2 separate regions of the Homo sapiens genome follow, and region 1 is linked to region 2. The links are contacts of gene promoters, found by promoter capture Hi-C in human tissues and cell types (Jung and others, 2019). All regions are on one chromosome and are shown on one strand. Each heading gives the region's core, a stretch centred on a gene start or on the middle of the fragment in contact. The rest is flanking DNA. Distances are from core to core; before and after follow the strand shown.

Region 1 (3,857 bases), core at 355-2,854, 290 kb before region 2:
CGGAGGGAAGACACAGAAAATAGAAAAGCATAATGGAAATGGGCACAAAGCTGAAGACAGCATCCTTCAAAGACACACGACACTTGGATCCCCCGCTGACGAACCGAGGGACCTACCTTTTGGATTAGGACGCAGCTGGCTTGGCGTTTCCAACCGGAGCAGCCCGGCAGCTGAGCCAAGTTCAGGGAGGACCAGCGGGCGGCTGTCTCTTAAATAGCCCCACCCGGCGGCGTCGGCCAGTCATGTATTTACCCAACGCTGACGCAGACTGGCAGTAACACGTGCTCAGAGGGCGGCCACTGGGGCGACAACCGGTTGAAGTGGCTCCTGGGAGAGAGGGGGAGGTGGTCTAGTGGGGTGGAGTTAATCCCTCCCACGCGCGGTGCCGGGTGTCCGCCCCCTCTGGGTCCGAGAAGCTTCCGCCCAACCCTTTCCAGGTGCCGCTCCCCTGCGCATTCCAGAGCAGTACTCTCCAAGGTGGGAAACCTAGGAGTTTGGAGTCTCCTCCGGGATGGAGAAGCTGCCGCTAGCTTAGTTCGCTTTGGGGACCGGAGGGGCTAGAAAGGAAACTGGGGGCGGGGGTGGGGGGTGGACACTGGGCAGGACTGAGCATCAGCAAGGCGTGATTCTGAAAGGGAGGGGGCGTCGGCCCCCTACCCCGGAGCGTCCGAGGCGCTGGTCTTCATACCTGTGTCGGCTCTTTCGAAGGAGAGAGGAGGAGTCGGGGTCTTCACTTTCTTCTCAGCCGCATTAAAAGCCCTCGCAGTTCTCCAGGTTTCCGAGGGCCAGTGTTCTGGGTCAGTGAAAGGGCTCTGGCCACAGCTGGCTCTTGGTGTCCTGGGCCTCTCTTGACGCAGCTGTAAAATGCGGATGACACCATCTGGTTTTGCTCAGAGGAATCCGGTTTGGGAAAGGGATGTGTTTTCTTCCCGGGCCAAGTTACCACCACCCGCGGCGCCCACTGTTCCCCGTTGTCGACAAGCGGCGCCAGCGAGGGTCCTGGGGAACTTGACCACCGCACCCCCGCAAGCTCGGGTAGACCACGGCATCCGCCCCTCGCACCTTTCCTGAGGGCCCACACACTCACACCCCCAGGACAGTACCTTCCAGAACTCAGCTGCGCAGCCTGGAGGTGAGGACCTCACCCCTAGTCAGTCACCCGTCCGGTGGAGGGAAGGGAGGCACCGAGGCTGCCGTGCGCCTTTCCCTGCACGCGGTTACTCTCCCGGCTCCGGAGCGGGCCGACCTGGAGCCCCTCAGTGCGCTCTGGTCGTCTACACCCTGAAACCCTTTGAGTTCGAGTCCGCTTGCTGGTGCTTGAGTTCGCCGCGTCCCTGCAAAGGCACTGCCAACCCCATTTCACAGACCGCAAACCGAGGCGCGAGGAAGAGCAGCGCCTTGCCAAGGCTCCACAACACGCCCCTCGCCCTCTCCGTGCACCGAGGCCGCCCAGCCTGGGACCTGGAGATCACCAGGCCTTGAACCTTGGGACCTCAACTCCTCTCCCTTTCTTTCCCCCACCCGTCTTAGATGCAAGGAGAAAGATTTAGAAGCGCTTATTTTAAAATCGGAATCCGTATTCCGCTCTGGAATTCCCTCTGGAATGGAGGGACTGTGGCAACGCCAGTGTGAGGGTGGAGTGGGCGAGGCGGGGTGGGGGGGTTGGGGGGGCGGCCCAGAGACGCCTCCGGTTGCTGCTCCACTTTCTAATCCTGAGAGGCAGCTGCGTTTCTGCAACCTATGGGCAACATGTTTGAAAGAGCTGAAGCTGATTAAATGCTTTCCAGTGGTTTCGCCACGAGCCTGCTAAGGTTTGTGTAGTTCAGTTGCGAAAAAGAGTCTTATTTGTGATTGTGGCAAGACATGTCTGGAAACATAAACTTGTTATCGAAATACCCCCAGAGCTTCTAATTCAGTAGGTCTGAGGAAGGGCCCAAGAATCCGAATTCCTTCCTTCCTTCCTTCCTTCCTTCCTTCCTTCCTTCCTTCCTTTCTTCCTCCTTCCCTCCTTCCCTCCCTCCCTCCCTTCCTTCCTCCCTCCCTCCCTCCCTTCCTCCCTCCTTCCCTCCCTCTCTCCCCTTCCCTCTTTCCCTCTCTCCCTTCCTTCCTTCCTTCCTTCCTTCCTTCCTTCCTTCCTTCCCTCCCTCCTTCCTTCCTTCCTTCCCCCCTCCCTCCCTCCGTCTCTCCTTCTCCCTCTTTCCCTCTTTCTCTCTCTCTTTCTTTCTTTCTTCTTTATTTCTTTCTTTCTTTCTTCATTTCCTTCCTTCCTTCCTTCCTTCCTTCCTTCCTTCCTTCCTTCCTTCCTTCCTTTCCTTGCCTTTCCTTCTTTGAGACAGAGTCTCACTCTGTCGCCCAGGCTGGAGTACAGTGGCATGATCTCGGCTCACTGCAACCTCTGCCTCCCAGGTTCAAACGATTCTCCTGCCTCAGCCTCCCCAGCGGCTGGGATTACAGGCATGTGCAGCCATGCCTGGCTAATTTTTATATTTTTAGTAGAGACAAGGGTTCACCATGTTGGCTAGGTTGGTCTCGAACTTCTGACCTCAGGTGATCTACCCACCTTGGCCTCCCAAAATGCTGGGACTACAGGCGTGAGCCACCACGCCCCACCAAGAATCTACATTTCTAACAAGTTCCCAGGCCATACTGAAAATGCTAGTCCGCCAAGCACACTTTGAGATCATTTCTATAGAAATTCCCTACCTTATACCAGTTACTCAACTCCTGGCCTTGATCCATTTAATTCATGTTTATTCAACACTTACTTTGTGCCAGGCCCCAGGGATTCAGTATGAACAAGAGCTGACAATACAATAGGGGAGCTGAAGCAAACAAGTGGACAAACACTTCTCAACAATTCTGATATTTGGGGACTATGGAGTGGAGATGGTAGGAGGTAATCTTGGAGAAATGTTTTGGTGAGGGGAGCTAGGTGGTAATATGGAAGATGCCCAAAAGGCAGAGGGACTGGAAGGGGAGGGCTGGATAGGAGGCCCTCGGGGATGGGCAAGCAGGAACAATCAAGGTAGATTTGTTTTAGAATAATAAGCCATTATGAAACCCATTAATTATTAGGAAACATAATAAACATTATGCAAGTCATAAGTGTTCATCAGAGAACATTCAGAAAACAAAAGTAGAGAAAAGAAGAAAAATTCCAGCCTCCCAGGGAACAACCTGTTGCTGCTCAGGAAACTGGTAGAGGGAACCGGACTTGGTGACTGAGACTGACCTTGAGTTTCCAGGCTGGGAGACAAGGGTGGGTGGTAGAGTATTATCCAAGACAGGGAATTCAGAAGGAAAAGCAGGCTTGGAGTGTGGCCGTGGTGGTAGTGGGCCAGTGGGGAGCGGGTAATGAGTCCAGTATGGGATTGGTTGATCGTTTGTGCATTGACAGTCTAGGAGGAGTTTGGGAGCCTTTGTCCTGAGCAGAGAGACACTGGAGGGGTGGACCCAGAGTCTGGCATGTGGGTGGTGGCTGCCAGCCTGGGAGTTATAGGGAGAGTTGAGGAAGGCAGCTAGCAATGGGTGGCAGGGTGCCTCTAGACAGACCGCTGAGGAGTGACAGCGTGAAGGAGTGGGTGGAGGAAAAAGAGCTGGTACAGAACCAGACAAGTGGGCCAAGGAGGCCAGCGTGGAAATGCCAGTGCAGAGCCAGAGGTGACAGGGACCATCAGAAGCTGAAGAAGGGCTTGTGCATGGGCCTTTCTCATTTACGATCAAGAGAGCTGCTTGCCTCTTTATTGTAAAATAAAGCAGTTGTAGCCGCTTGTCTCTCAGGAGTGGAAATTCTGAGCAGGAAATGTGTGATAGAAGAGCTGCTAGGAAAATAGAAAGACATAAGGGATCTGAACTCC
Region 2 (4,070 bases), core at 714-3,213:
TGCAGTGGTGTGATTATAGCTCATGGAAGCCTCAAACTCCTGGACTCAAGGGATCCTCCTGCCTCAGACTCCCAAAGTGCTGGGATTACAGGCATGTGCCATCACATCCGGCTAATTTTTTTTTTTGTAGAGATGAATCTTACTATGTTGTCCAGGCTGGTCTCAAACTACTGGCCTCAACCGAGTCTCCTGCTTTGGCCTTCCAAAGTGCTGGGAATACAGGCATGAGCCATCATGCCTGGCCCATATCCAAATATTTTATGTTTGGTCAAAAATAGAAAATTCTATTATAAAAAATAAAGTTACTATGGCAACATTTTCCCAACATAGTTCCCAGTATATAAACTTATTTTTCTTAAAATGATAACAAGGTAGCTCAATAACAATACAATACCAGTGATAACCAAATATAATTGAATTTTTCTAAAACTACATTCTTACATTCCCTATCCACTCAACTCTTGTAATGGTTTTCCACTTTTAAAAACTATCAAAATAGGATTTTTAAAAATTTATCAAGACCACATAATGCAGTTGAACACTCAAAGTGTTCCATGCAACTGTGGTTGAACTATTCAGATTCCAGACTTCTACCAAGAACAATCCAAAGAGCAAACTCCCAAAATGACCTCCTGCGTGGTACAAAACAAGCCAGGCTGAAATTTCGGGAAACCTAAGGGATCTTATCCAGAACCATATTTTGGAAAACTGTGATCAATCAATTTTTTGACAGTGAAAGAGAGTAACTTTCCAGAGTATGTGTTAATTATATCTCTATCAAGCTTTAAAAAGTTAACAGATACTTAACTCTTGTTCATAAAAAATGAGGCCCTCAAGCTAATTAAGATGACTGGGAAAGGTGCAGAGGAGTAATTAATTTTGGAGGCGCTCTGGGAACAGGTACACAGGGTACAGTAGTCATCATCATTAAAACAACAGGCACTCAGCTCTACTGAAAAGGCTGATGACAGCAGCCCCTCCCAAGCGGATCTGTAAAGTGCCACTGAATCCATGTTCATTCACCTACTCCAGGTTGTGGTCAATTGTAAGTAATCCTGAAATTCTCATTTCTGCTCATGCTGACAAACTTATCATCTAGAAGTACTGGTTATTCAATTAATTTTTAAAATATTCGGATATACCCTGCAAATAAATATAAAACATCTCTGTACCCAAACAGTCCCACCACTATAAAAGGTTACATATAAATTAAATAAACTCAGATTTCTTAACCATTTTCTCAGCTTAAGTTTGCCCTCACCCTAAATGAAGTCCAATTTATATCCAAAATATAATTAAATATTCCAAAGGTATATCGAACCTAAGATATTGAAAAAATGTAAACAAAATTTATCTAGCTTACATTTATGAACCATATTTTTAGGTTTTTAATTCATCCTGTACTGACCCTCTGAAAAAAAAAACTAATCAAGTTATGTTTAGACTGAAAGCTGATTTGGATTTTAAAGTGGTTCCTTGGAGACAACTCTCAATGACTAAAACCAGTGTTATTGAATCAAGTGGTTTACTGTATCATTCAACTTAAAAGACCAAAATATTTCCTTTCTCTCTTCCAATAAAGCTCTTTCTGGATGAGCCCCCAGATCCAGCTGTCCTAGGTAAACGTGCTGAACTGGCTGGAGATCCTGCAGTAATGCTTGGCACAGAACCAAGGCTGGGTATCAAGCAACCTCATGACTTCCACTGCAACTGTTTAACATCCCCAATTCCTGGTTTTTCAGTCCAGTTGGCTGAAAAGGATGGAAACTGGAGTGTAAAGTAGAGAAGCAGAAAGAGAAACATAGATTGATCCTCAAAAGAAAATCAAAGAATCCATTCATCACAGTGTCATCCTCATACTCCACAGTCAGACTGCTTCTCCTGAAGCTGCCTTGTTAGTATCTGATATGAAGACAGAAAAGCCACTCCTATGTGGAAAAGGATTTGCCAGAGGTTCCTCAGCCCGTGCAGGTACATGTTGCCCAGGCAAATAAAGAGCAGCATAAGCACCACCTTCATAGTCCTGGCTGGACTGTAGAACAGGTACAAATAACACTGAAATGAGACCAGAAGAGGAATTCCAATCAGAGATAAAATGGCCACTAGATCATATGCAAAATTCACCTCCCACAGCTTCCATGAAGAGTGTCATTTCTCTCACATTAGCTGATTAAACTGAATTCATTACAGTAAAGCGTGGACCCACTGGTTAGGCTGCTAATTATTGGACGAAAGTGAGGATTTGGAAGATTAAAGGAAAGTGAAATAGATGTCACAGGAAGAATCAGTGCATGGCACATCTGAAAGAAGTTAAAGAAATAGACAGAAATGACCAGGCTGTTGGCAGTAGAGAAAGAAGAGCTGCACATAAGCTGCAGACAGCCAGGCTGCAGACAGGGGACCCTAACGTGACTGACTGGCCCCCCAGTGAAGTTTTTCTTCAGGGAGCCAGGACAGGCAAGCAAGCTGGTGAGAGAAAGCCATGCTTTTACTATTTTGGTTTCTCCTGAGCCACGACTACATTGAGCACCACTCTTCCCTTGGGCACCCTCCTTATCATGTCTTCCAAAGCATCTCTGAGTCAGGGAAAGGTCTCACAGCAGGGAGAGTGACTGGTATTTTGTGTATGACTATCACACATAAAAGGGGCCATTCTTGTTCTGCAAAAGGTGGAAACGGCATTTTGGTTCAATGCTTTGTTTTTTTTTTTTAAAAAAAGGACATCACTGAACATGGATCAATCTGACAAAGGTTCAATCTACAGAGGGAGGGAGTGAGCTATCCAACCAGGAACACAGTTGAAGGAATGAGGTGGAACTGTACAATCCCTGCAGTCCTAAAACATAGCTCTAGGAAACTGCCACTGGCTATGTCCAAGGTCTTGGAGACTTGTTTTCTAAAAAATGAATGCATTTTCATGGGTTGAAAATTTCTTTTTGCATAATCAGGTAATGCTTTTTCATTTTTTTTAGGCAATGTCTTTCTCTGTTGCCCAGGCTGGAACACAGTGGCGTGATCTCAGCTCACCGCAACCTCCACCTCCAGGGTTCAAGCAATTCTCATGCCTAAGCCTCCCAAGTAGCTGGGACTACAGGTATGCACCACCATAATCAGCTGATTTTTGTATTTTTATTATAATAGAGATGGGGTTCCCTAGGCTGGTCTTGAACTCCTGGCCTCAAGTGATCCACACATCTTGGCCTCCCAAAGTGCTAGGATTACAGGCATGAGTCACCACACCTGGCCTGGGTAATTCTTAAGAATAAACCATTCTAGGATGTATGTGGAAGAGAAGGAAAGCGTCCTAAGAACAGAAATTTTAATTTTAAAAAAAGGGAGAAAAAATATGTATTCAGAGACAGTGCTAAAATCCTAGTCCATACGGAGGACAAGGAAGGAGAATTAGAGCCACGCTTTCACTAGAATTAACTCTGCCTATGAGGGACTCAAAATCGCCTCTTTATGCCACCCCTTAGTACACAGCTTATATGAAAATAACTAATCAAAACCCTCTAGTTAATGTTCTAATGTTTGCTTCAGTTCCTAAAGAACAGGTCTGAGTCAGAAGGTATTACTATTTAAAACAACAACAACAACAACAACAAAAAAATCAGCAGTTCTTTGACCTAGTCTTATATATGTATATATTTTTTAAAAAATTTTTTGCAGAGGTCGGGCGTGGTGGCTCATGCCTGTAATCCCAGCACTTTGGGCGGCCGAGGCGGGTGGATCACAAGGTCAGGAGATCGAGACCATCCTGGCTAACATGGTGAAACCCCGTCTCTACTAAAAGTACAAAAAAAATTAGCCAGGTGTGGTGGTGGGCACCTACAGTCCCAGCTACTTAGGAGGCTGAGGCAGGAGAATGGCGTGAACCCGGGAGGCAGAGCTTGCAGTGAGCCAAGATTGTGCCACTGCACTCCAGCCTGGGCAACAGTGCAAGACTCCGTCTCAAAAAAAAAAAAGAAAAAAAAAGTTCAGAGATGGGGTCTTGCTATGTTGCCCTGGTTGGTCTCAAACTCCAGGCCTAAAGTGATCCTCCCACCTTGGCCTTGAAAAGTACTGGGATT

The links. Contacts are between HindIII fragments. The study calls those that stand out against the background at their distance.
Region 1: the fragment with the promoter of CCK here is called in contact with a fragment that was not itself captured in region 2 in 1 of the 25 tissues and cell types used here (thymus).

What each region holds. Positions count from the first base shown.
Region 1 is chr3:42,264,581-42,268,437 of GRCh38, forward strand. CCK (cholecystokinin) reads right to left here and starts at 1,605. Exons shown (of 5, transcript NM_000729.6): 1 at 1,104-1,605; 2 at 689-857; 3 at 117-327. The HindIII fragment of the contact is 4,994 bases long and covers 1-3,857 here.
Region 2 is chr3:42,551,394-42,555,463 of GRCh38, forward strand. SEC22C (SEC22 homolog C, vesicle trafficking protein) reads right to left here. Exons shown (of 7, transcript NM_032970.4): 7 at 1-2,055. The coding sequence ends at 1,855. Among named protein-coding and RNA genes, the nearest start is that of VIPR1-AS1, 21 kb to the left of the region's middle. The HindIII fragment of the contact is 7,415 bases long and covers 1-4,070 here.